4 separate regions of the Homo sapiens genome follow, and all the other regions are linked to region 4. Evidence: promoter capture Hi-C in 16 types of primary human blood cells and fetal thymus (Javierre and others, 2016). All regions are on one chromosome and are shown on one strand. The core of a region is centred on a gene start or on the middle of the fragment in contact, and the rest is flanking DNA. Distances in the headings are between cores, read along the strand shown.

Region 1 (2,700 bases), core at 151-2,650, 300 kb before region 4:
AAAGAGGGCCAATAAGCCCAGGCCTTACGCCTGCACTGTGGTGAGGTGCTCAGGATGGCAGGGGGCAAAGCTGTGCAAAGCTTCTGCCAACTCAAGGGCTTACAGCAATCGGTGAAGTCATAGGCATCCAACATCAGGACAAGGACAGATAAAGAAATGCCTCTTAGACAAAATGTTTTGCTATTTTCTGTTTGGAGTAAACCAAATAATATAGAGAATCATTTAAAGAATACTCAGCATGACTTACTGCCCAGCTTATGAAATAAAACATCATCAGAAGTAGATCTGGATATTGTAGGGCCTGAAGTCTATTCAATTTAGGGGGCTCCCCCCCTTTTATTTTTTAACGGCTATTATGCTATGAATTCGTAGGGAATAGGTTCCAAGCAACTTAGGCTTCTTTCCATTGGTTCTCACAAAGTGAGCTTCACAAAGTGGAGAAGGCTGGCACTTCAGGTACTTTTCTCTTTTGCTTCCTTCTTTTTCTGATCCTTTTCCTTTACATGCTTCAGGAAGTTATCTTGGCCCTTAGACTGCTTAATATGCTCAATAAACACATTAATTCTCTCAGCAAGAATCTTGCCTTTAATTTGTTTGTGTCCAAGAACACTGTTGATAGGCTCTTCCAGTTTTGCCGTGGTAACATGTGTGGGGCATTCAGTGAATGCCTTGAGTTGGCAGAAGCTTTGCACAGGTTTGCCTCTGCAATCTTGAGCACCTCACCACAGTGCAGGTGTAAGGCCTGGGCTTATTGGCCCTCTTTTATTTTTAAAAATTGCCTAACATTTAATTTCAAAAATCCCTTAGTCTCTTTTCAACTTATATCCCATTTCAGTCCCTAATACCATGATAACATGTGTGGGGCATTTTTGAACAGTTCCCATTCCCTTGATGTCTGCAACATAACCTTTCTTGTAGATTTGCATGGTTGTGGCCAAAGGAACAACTCCATGTTTTCTAAAAGGCCTAGAGAACATATATTGGTGTCCCTCCTCTTTCCCTTAGTGTTCCTCATTTTGGAGAATAACTGGAAGACGGCAGTTCCTTCTGAAAGGCTAGGGAACTCTTTTTAATAAAAAGAATATAAAACTATGAGTAAATATTAGGTACAAAAATAAAACAAAGCTGGGCACAGAGGCTCACACCTGTAATCCCAGCATTTTGGGAGGCCAAGGCAGGAGGATTTATTGAGGCAAGGAGTTTGAGACCAAGAGCAACATAATCAGATCTCAGCTCTACTAAAAAAATGAAAAAAAAATTAGCTGGCCATGGAGTGCACTCCTACAGTCCCTGCTACTCAAGAGGCTGAGGCAGGAGGAGAACTTGAGCCCTGAAGGTGGAGGCTGCAGGGATCTGTGATCACACCACTGCACTCCAGCCTGGGAGACGGAGCAAGACCCTGTCTCAAAAGTAAAGCAAGAAGTTAATTACAAGAAAAAAGTAAATAGGAAATTACAATTTTTTTAAATCTAATAGTTGCTACTGTGAAAGGAAACATTTTGGGCCCCCAAAATCACTAAGCTAAAGGGAAAATTCAAGCTGGGAACTGTTTAGGGCAAACCTGCCTCCCATTCTATTCAAAGTCATACCTCTCCTCATTAAGATAAATGCATATCTGGTTGCCTCTTTGAAAAGGCTAAACAGAAACTCAAAAGAATGCAGCTGTTTTTCTCTCACCTACCTGTGACTTGGAAGCCCCCTCCCTGCTTCGAGTTGTCCCTCCTTTCCAGACCAAACCGATGTTCATTTTACATATGTTGATTGATGTCTCACGTATCCCTAGAATGTATAAAACCAAACTGTGCTCTGACCATCCTGGACACATGTCGTCAGGACCTCCTGAGGCTGTGTCTTGGGTACGCGCCCTCAACCTTGGCAAAATAAACTTTACAAATTAACTGAGACCTGTCTCAAATTTTCTGGGTTTACATTTTGTTAACCACAAAAGGATTCTCAATGGAGATGCCCCTGACCTTTGACAAATCTCCTATCAGTGCCTGGTACCAGCATGAGCTAACTTTATGGCTCAAACCAACAGGACAATTTGCTGAGGTCTGGGAATATCCCCTCCAGAGAATCCCTGATGTCCCAAAATTTGGTCAAGATCTAAAGCTTATTTTGCTGTACATCCCCTCTTTTTTTTTTTTTTTTTTTTTTTTTTTGGAGTTTTACTTGCTTTCAACAAGAAAGGCAAGTTTTTCTGCTTCCATGACGATGGAAAGCAGGTAACTCCTTTATGGAGTTTGAGCTCACTTCCAATAGGGAAAATGAGGTTTTTTTTTGTTTTGTTTTTTGTTTGTTTGTTTGTTTGTTTGTTTTTCCTGCTTCTAGGATGGTAGAGAGTTGTTTTCAGCCTGAGACCCATCCCTAGGTATGTAGCTGAATTGAGGTTTTGTCTTGGCTAAAGTTAACAAAAAGCTGGTTTTAATTTCTGCTTACCATTAGAGTGCTCAGTGATCATATAAGTTGTGCCATTGTTTATTTCTGTTTTTATTGTTGTTTCAGTCTTTTTCCTGTTGGGTTTCATCAATTCTATCCAACTTGATCAAATCCAAAGGAAAGTTCCAAATTATGGGGAATAAGTCCTCTGAAGTGGTTAAATTCCCACACACAAAAAAGGGTGGTGTAGGAGAAAAATGGCCAGCAAAAGAAAAAAAAAAGAGAAGGGAACATTTTTTTATTTTGATTACTAAAGGGGCT
Region 2 (2,700 bases), core at 92-2,591, 320 kb before region 4:
TATATTTCTATAAGTATATATTTTATAAGTATATATTTATAAGTATATTAGTATATATAAGTATATTAGTATATAATTATTATATAATCATGTCAGATTGTATAATCATACCACAGATTAGTTTTTCGCCAACTGATGGACTTTTAGGCTATTTCCATTTTTTTGCTAATATGAACAATGCCTCCTCTTTACATACATAGGCTAATGTTACTGCAGATATTAAGAAGCTGAATTGCTGGTAGAAATGGCTCCACCATTTCTTCCACTCATAGCAGCAGTGTATAAAAATATCTATTTTTCTATATTTTTGCCAATATTTGCTAAGCTTTCAAATTTTTGACAATGTGATGGTTTAAAATGGTATAATGGCATCTTGTTTTAATTTGCAGTTCTCTGATCACTGGTCAGGTTAAATATCTTGACTTAGGTACATTGGCCATTTGCGTTTCTTCTGAAAATTTCCTATTTATAACTTTTGCAAAGTTCTCTGTTGGGTTCTGTGTCTTGTTCTTATTGAGAAGTAGAAGTTCTTTATATGATAATAAGTTGAGAGTGGTGACTCACACCTGTAAGCCCAGCACTTTGGGAGGCCAAGGTGGGAGGATCACTTGAGTCCAGGAGTTTGAGATCAGCCTGGGCAATAAAGCGAGACCCCAAGTCGAAAGAAAAATGAATAAAAATATGGGTACTACTCTTTTGTGTGATACATATTATCTATGTAAATATAAGATAGGTCATATATACATATACATCTGCAGCAGATGCTGTGTTGCACCACCCAGATTCCCTCCTATGGTTTGGTTCTGTGTCCCCACCCAAATCTCATCTCAAATTGTAATCCCCATGTGTTGAGGGAGGGACCTGGTGGGAGTTGACTGAATCATGAGGGTGGTTTCCCCCATTGTCTTCTCGTGATAGTGAGAGAGTTCTCATGAGACCTGATGGTTTTAAAAGTGGCAGTTTCCCCTGCACTCTCTCTCTCTCCTGCCACCTTATGAAGATGTGCCTTGCTTCCCTTTCACCTTCCACCATGATTGTAAGTTTCCTGAGGCCTCCCCGGCCATGTGGAAGTATGAGCCAATTAAACCTCTTTTCTTTATAAATTACCCGGTCTTGGGTAGGATCTTTATAGCAGTGTGAGAATAGACTAATATACTCCCTTTAGAAATGAAGCATACAGCTAGGCATAGTGGCTCATGCTTGTAATCCCAGCACTTTGATAGGCCAAGACAGGAAGATTGCTTGAGCCCAGGAATTCAAGGCCAGCATGGGCAACAGAGAGAGACCTTGTCTCTACCGAAAAAAAAAAAAAAAAAAAGAAAAGAAAAAGAAATGAAGCACTTATTCTCCCAGATGCTGGAAATGTACACAGCTGCCAACTCTCAGCTGAGTTTTTATCTAGAACTTGCCCTCACCCAGGTCATGCCCCCTCCCTGGAAGCTGCCCACACCCAATTACTGGTCACTGCGGGTGTTTAAAGACCAACCTCCTTTCCTCAATTCAAGACAGCTCAGCTCCAGAGCTCTCTGTGGAACAGGATCACCTAACCCTTTAGTGTGACTGCATCGCAGATCAACTTCACCCTCTGCCCTGTCCCGCTTCTCTCACTCCCCTATAGATACCAATCCTAACAGTCCTCCTAATAAATTTGCTGTGTGCAAATGTCTGTATCTCGAAGTCCGTTTTCTAGAATACATAACGTAAAACAATTTCAAATATGTTCACCATTATCACTTGACTTTGAACTTTGTTTGAGGTATGCTTTTTGGATGTATTCCTCTTTTCCCATATGCTTTTTGCTTTTCATGTCTTAAGAATGCTATCCCTCTTCCAAGGGCATAAAGATATTCTTCTATATTTTTTTCTAATATTTTCACAACTTTTTTTGCCTTTTAGTCCACATAGTACTCATTTGTATGCATGGTGTGAGGCAAAGAATCTAACTTTATGTTTCATTTGGATAGTTATTTGTCCAGCACCACTTATGACATTGTCTATGTTTTTCTGACTGATTTGAAATGCCTCTTCTACAATATGAAAATATGATAGCGATATCAAAATAGCATATATGAGAATATGATAGCCGTAGAAGAGACGTTTCAATACCCAATACCCAACTACAGTTGAATGCTTCACAGTGAGCATTTGACCCAAGCCAAACCTGGAATTTTTTAAATTCTAAAAATAGGAAATGGCTGCAGGAACTCTTCAATGGTAGAGGGAGAGGAGTCTGGTGTTGCTTGGCGCTTGAGTTCTAGTTATTTCTAAGATACATCTCTGCCCATTCCCACTTTCCAGTTTCAACCCTTCCTTGAGTTTATGAGCAAAATATTGCATGGTTTGGGACTTAAGCTTGCTCAAACTGAGTGTCCATCTTATAACTAAAAGAGACCAAATACACAAGGTATATCCTCCTGAGCTTGGGACGCATGGCAACATTGTATACGAAGTTGAGTTGGACAAGGGCCAAGTGCCACCCAAGGTAATCTGTGGCAGCTAGTCACCACCTAGGAAATCGGTGCTCTGAAACTGTTTGTTTCTTGAGTTTCATATGTCTCTTTGATTTCCTTTTCCTTTAGTTTCCCATTGAAGTGTTATTTTTAGGAAATTAGGACAGTCTCAGCTGAGCCAAAAGAAAAAGATTTTCCACCCCAGGCTAGATTAGCTAAGGGTGTCAGAGGCTAAGAGAAGCCAGGAATA
Region 3 (2,767 bases), core at 19-2,518, 280 kb before region 4:
AATTGGGGCGTGTCTAGAAAGAGAAGCCATAGTCGGCGAGCAACGCTGGAGCATCCCGCTCTGGTGCCGCTGCAGCCGGCAGAGATGGTTGAGCTCATGTTCCCGCTGTTGCTCCTCCTTCTGCCCTTCCTTCTGTATATGGCTGCGCCCCAAATCAGGTCTGTGCAAATGTATTGCCTTCTCTTGAGAATTCTTGTTGCGGGGCGGGAGGGAAACATAGAATCCCCACCAAAGCTTTCTTGGAAAACTCCCCTGGGGGGGCTCCAAGATGGCGGAGCCCAGAGTTCGGTGGGTTGGAGGCGAGGTCCAGCTGTCCTGGGTGCCAGGAGGACACCCGAGACCCCAGGCGGTGAGAAAGGGCGGCAGTCCGGGGCACACTGCTTTTCCCTGGCCTGTTTTTCTTTTGTCTAAGCACCCCCTGATTCTGGCTCCAGGGAATCCCGAGGGTAAGGCTACCTCAAACGCTTGAGTTTCGGACTCTTCAATGGGATATGGCCCGACGCTGTTTTCCCCTTATTCCCCACGCCTTAAACCAGCCTTCGAGGTACAAAGGAGCGATTCCACATTTCGCCCTCTGAAACTGATAGCAATCGTAACATCTGCGGCCCCATCCTTGCTCTCTCGTTGCTGTTACAATCGCTTGTTCTGTGGGCGGATGTTGTAAAGGAGAAAAGTGAAAAGGAAGAGTGTTTGGTTATGAGCTCTATCCTGCCTTGCGAGCAGGAGCACGGGGGATCTGAGTTAGGAGCTAGGGTACTGGGGCGGTGAGGGCTGGGAGAATGGTGGGAAGGTATTGACCAGGTGATAGATCAATCAGCCCAAGGCTGGCCAAGTGCCCCAGTGAATCAGCAGCGGGCTGTAAAACCGGCAGCCTGCTTATTGGTTCTAAGTAAATCACCAGTGGTGACGGACCAGTGACTGAATAGACAGACACACTCCTTCCCCAGGTGGGCGGTCTTAGTCCCAATAGAACTTGAAGCCAGGCCAGATCACAGTCATTTCTTACCACAGTCACCTACTTTCCTTCTTTTATTTTTATTTTCTCTTCCTTCTCTGGTGCCCCTCTTCCAGTTATATTTTTTCTGCCTTCTGAACACTCAGTTCTCCCACCTCTAGGCACACATGGTTTCTCACACTCAGATGAAAACACTGCTTTTTATCTTTTTTTCACTACAAGATCCTCTTATCCACATAGAATCTCAATGAAAAGTTGAACCAGAACTGAAAATAGTGCTCATACCCCAGAGGGATTTTTCTGGAAAAAAAAAAAATATATGTGTGTATATATATATATATATGTGTGTGTGTGTATATATATATATGTGTGTGTGTGTGTATATATATATATATATATATTCCAGGAGCTGTATTCCCAACTCAGCAGGGTTATGGGAGTCGGGCCAGAGCTGGACTTTTATAGTTGTCTCTTTCATTCCTGCTGGTTAAGGAGAAGAAAGAACTAAGTACAGGTCCTACTAAGTTGTCACTCCTGGAGCTACATACAGTAAGGGGATGTGGGAAACAGCCTAGAGGCTTGTTTTCTGAGGAGGGAGGTGATGGTTTGTGGGGACCATGAGTTAATCTGCCTCCCTGTCAGCATTTTCGCACTATGCAGGTAGCTTCAATGGCTAAGAGTATGTACCTTGCAATTCCAAGTTCAATGAAAAAGGCTGAAATGCTCTTTAAGAATGCATCTCCTGGTCAACAGATTGTTTTAACCAGAGTCCCAACATTGCCAAGAAGAGAATAGGCCAGTCTGAGAACCACCAATCTGTGTTTGTGCATTCATTCATTTGGAAAAGGCAATATAGTATAGTACTTAGAAACAAGCACTCTAGGCTGGGCTTGGTGACTCACACCTGTAATCCCAGCACTTTGGGAGGCTGAGGTGGGCGGATCACCTGAGGTCAGGAGTTCGAGACCATCCTGGCCAGCGTGGTGAAACCCTGTCTCTACTAAAAATACAAAAATTAGCTGGGCGTGGTGGCGCATGGGTGAGGGGGTGAGGGATGAGAATCGCTTGAACCTGGGAGATGGGGGTTGCAGTGGAGGTGGAGGTTGCAGTGAGCCGAGATCACACCATTGCACTCCAGCCTGGGCAACAAGAGCAAAACTCTGTCTCAAAAAAAAAAAAAAGAGAAAGAGAAAGAAAGAAACAAGGACTCTAATTACACAAAGCAAGACTTGAATCCCAGCTCCCCTTTGTACATACATAATCTTCTCTTTGTTTTAAGTGTGTATGTGCATGCGTGTGGGTGTGTTTTTTTTTTCTTGTTTATTTTGTCCCAGAGTCACAAGCTTTCATAATTTTAACTTTTTGTATTGGATTAGCCATTTCTCAAGGCCATAAAATGCCAGTTGTGGACAGATTGACCTACAGAAACTAGTTATTTCTTCTTCTGGGCTGAATCTTGTGATTTCCTAAGTCACAAGTGCCTTAGAGAGCTCAAACCAAAGCCAGGTGCCTGGCTAAGCAGGTATTCATCCAGTTCTTGTGCTGCAGAGAACAGCTGTAAGCTTTGCCCTTGTAATAGAATCACTTTTGTCTTTGAGCAAAAGCAGAAAACTTTTGTCATCTTTCCTCCAACTTTCCTTAAATGGACACTGTTTCCTTAAAAGGACAACAGTGGAAAGAACTAAAGCAAACCTCAGCCAGAAGACACAGGGAGTTGCAGGAACCTACTGGCTGAGACAGTAGAATGAAGAATTGATGAGCTCTCCTTCTCTGTCTGCAGGAAAATGCTGTCCAGTGGGGTGTGTACATCAA
Region 4 (2,700 bases), core at 96-2,595:
CCTTCTTCCTCTCTAGAGCCTTCTCTTCCCTTACAGGCATCTGAGGGCCTTTCCCATGCCTGGTGAAGAGTCCTGACAGGGCCCTTCAAACTGGAGCACAAATAATATGGACCGGCCCCATGACTCATGCCCACAATCCCAGCACTTTGGGAGGCTGAGGCAGGAGGACTGCTTGAGCCCAGGAGTTCGAGACCAGTCTGGACAATATAGTGAGACCCTGTCTCTATAAATAAAAATAAATTTTAAAAAAATGTGTGACTGTGTTCTAAGGATTGTTAGACAGAATCAGTACTATTTGACTGAGTTTCCTTCTGTTCCAGGCTCCAATATGGCCTGATAGAACATTGTTGTTGATCCTATCTATTTAAAATGTTAGCATTTTGTTCATCGTGGATTTTTTGACATTAATTTTGATTTTAAAAAATGCATTAAAATATTATTTTTCTAGGTCTTACACGGTGGCTCTTGCCTGTAATCCCAGCACTTTGGGAAGCCCAGGCCGGAGGATTGCTTGAGGCCAGGAATCAAGACCAGCCTGGGCAACATAGCAACACCCTATCTCTACGAAAAATAAAAATAAACCAGCCAGGCATGGTGGTGCACTCCTGTAGTCCTAGCTACTTGGGGAGCTGAGGCAGGAGGATCTTAAGCCCAGAGTTTAAGGCTGCAGTGAGCTATGATCACACCACTGCACTCCAGCCTGGGTGACAGAGAAAGACCCTGTCTCAAAAAACAAACAAAAAACCCCAAAAAACCAATCATCTCTCTCTATATATAATTTGTCTAGGTTACTGGACTCCTTGGTGCCCCCTTAAATTTTGTCCTTAATGATGGAATTTTCGGCTTCATCTTTTTTGAGGGAGCGGGGTATATCCTGCGGACAGGGGGCCCTGCAAACTGTGCCTGCCGCCTTAAAACTGTGACCTTCCTGTTACTGAGAGGTCTTCTCTGCCCCCATCAGAGGCCAGGATAAAATTCCCATACCAGTTTCGGCTCACCCACTGTCCCATCTCCTACTTGCAATGAGCTCAGGAATGGCTCCAAATCCTGGAGTCCTGTCGGTTATGTTCAATTCGATAAGCGTTCCTCGAGGGCAATGCGCTAAGTGCCCGGGAAGCACCTGGCGAAGGACGCTGAGCAGAGAGACTGGAACAGTGAGGGGCGCGGGGCGCACCTGGATGGGGCGGGGTTGGCCGCTCTGTACCTGGAGGACCAACCACCGACCCTGGAGCACCTTTGGGTGGAAACGTCACGTCAGAAATCCCGACTTGGTCTGACTTCCTGCCCCGGGGCCTCAGGCTCTGGACACGCGCCAGGGAGGCGTCGCCCTGCCGCGTCGGAGCTGCTTCCTGGGCGCCGTGGGCGCGGACTGCGCGGGCTGCGCGGGTGCCGAGGAGCGCGAGGCGCGGGGAAGGCGCACCTGGGGTGGCCCTGGCGTGCGGGCGGCGACATGGAGGACGGCGTGCTCAAGGAGGGCTTCCTGGTCAAGAGGGTGAGTGCGCGTCGAGCTTCGGGACATTGCCCGGGTGGGGCCCCGCCGACGCGGCTCCCTAGAGCGGGGCCAGACGCGCGCCCCGGAACGGGCATGCTCTGGTTCCCATCCCCAACCCCCATGGTGGGACCGGGCCGCCTGTGGCCCTGATGGGCAGAGCTGCATGTCCGAGGGGACGCGGGGTAAGCGGTGGCTCAGCGCACAGGCAAGGAGGAGAATCCCACTTGGTTAGCGCAGTATGGAGTCGGGGCAGGGGTACTGAAGCGTGTGTCTTAATTAAAACTTGTTAAAATATTATGAATGGTATGATATTTAAATAATATTTACTAAGATAATATAGGCGTGCTCTGTAATTTACAACCTGTGAAGGAGGAATGCTACTATGTGTCTTAAGCACTTACTGTTGGCCAGCCCTGGATATTGTCTCATGTCATCCTCCCAGCAGCCCTGCTTTCATCAAGGGGGAAAACGAAGCCCAGAGGAGTTAGGGAACTTGCTCGGGGCGGTGAAGGCAGTGGGTGGTGGAGCCAGGATCGGGATCAGACCCACTCAGGTTGACCCAAACCTTTACTGCCTCCCCAGTGCCATACACGGTGGGTACTGACATCACTCTATTACAGACGGGGAAACTGAGGACCAGAAAGATGAAGTAGCTTGCCCAGAGCTCCAGAGCCAGTAATAGCTGGGACAGGAACTGCATGTTCTGACCTCCCCTCCTCAGTCCTTCCCCACCACCCCAGGTGGCCCAGGGCAAACGAGTGCAAACAAAAACTCAGTGCCTGGGATTATGGTAGAAGATGAACAAAAGAGCAGCTGCAAAAGGAAGTTTGTTATTTCAAAATTTTTTCCTGATTTGACCTTTTTTTTTTTTTTTTTTTTTTGAGACAGGGTCACCCAGGCTGGAGTGCAGTGGCACAATCCTGGCTCACCACAGCCTCGACTTCCCAGGCTCAGGTGGTCCTCTCACCTCAGCTTCCCTAGTAGCTGGGACTACAGGTATCCACTACTATGCCCAGCTAATTTTTGTATTTTTTTGTGGAGACAGGGTTTCGCCATGTTTCCCAGGCAGGTCTTGAACTCCCGGGTTTAAGTCATCTGCCCACCTTAGCCTCCCAAGGTGCTGGGATAACAGGCGTGAGCCACCACACAGAGCGTAATTTGAACAATGACATTAACACTAACCATTTATACTGCTATGATGGCATAGC

What was found. Contacts are between HindIII fragments. The CHiCAGO score rates a contact against its expected background, and 5 or more counts as called.
Region 1: a contact is called between a fragment that was not itself captured here and the fragment with the promoter of PLEK2 in region 4, in 1 of 17 cell types (M0 macrophages). The highest score is 5.6, in M0 macrophages.
Region 2: a contact is called between a fragment that was not itself captured here and the fragment with the promoter of PLEK2 in region 4, in 1 of 17 cell types (total B cells). The highest score is 6.3, in total B cells.
Region 3: a fragment that was not itself captured here is called in contact with the fragment with the promoter of PLEK2 in region 4 in 2 of 17 cell types (M0 macrophages and erythroblasts); the score reaches 6.2 in M0 macrophages.

Annotation. Positions count from the first base shown.
Region 1 is chr14:67,712,860-67,715,559 of GRCh38, reverse strand. The region is part of intron 1 of RDH12 (retinol dehydrogenase 12); the gene reads right to left. It also overlaps a transcript of GPHN not described here and the pseudogene RPL21P9. Among named protein-coding and RNA genes, the nearest start is that of RDH12, 12 kb to the right of the region's middle. The HindIII fragment of the contact is 1,428 bases long and covers 687-2,114 here.
Region 2 is chr14:67,735,707-67,738,406 of GRCh38, reverse strand. It overlaps a transcript of ZFYVE26 not described here. Among named protein-coding and RNA genes, the nearest start is that of RDH12, 35 kb to the right of the region's middle. The HindIII fragment of the contact is 2,027 bases long and covers 328-2,354 here.
Region 3 is chr14:67,693,021-67,695,787 of GRCh38, reverse strand. It overlaps RDH11 (retinol dehydrogenase 11), which reads left to right and starts at 24. Exons shown (of 7, transcript NM_016026.4): 1 at 24-158; 2 at 2,736-2,767. The coding sequence starts at 85. It also overlaps a transcript of GPHN not described here. RefSeq lists an enhancer at 1-507 and a silencer at 857-916. The HindIII fragment of the contact is 2,064 bases long and covers 237-2,300 here.
Region 4 is chr14:67,410,810-67,413,509 of GRCh38, reverse strand. PLEK2 (pleckstrin 2) reads left to right here and starts at 1,345. Exons shown (of 9, transcript NM_016445.3): 1 at 1,345-1,492. The coding sequence starts at 1,451. It also overlaps a transcript of GPHN not described here. The HindIII fragment of the contact is 5,074 bases long and covers 1-2,700 here.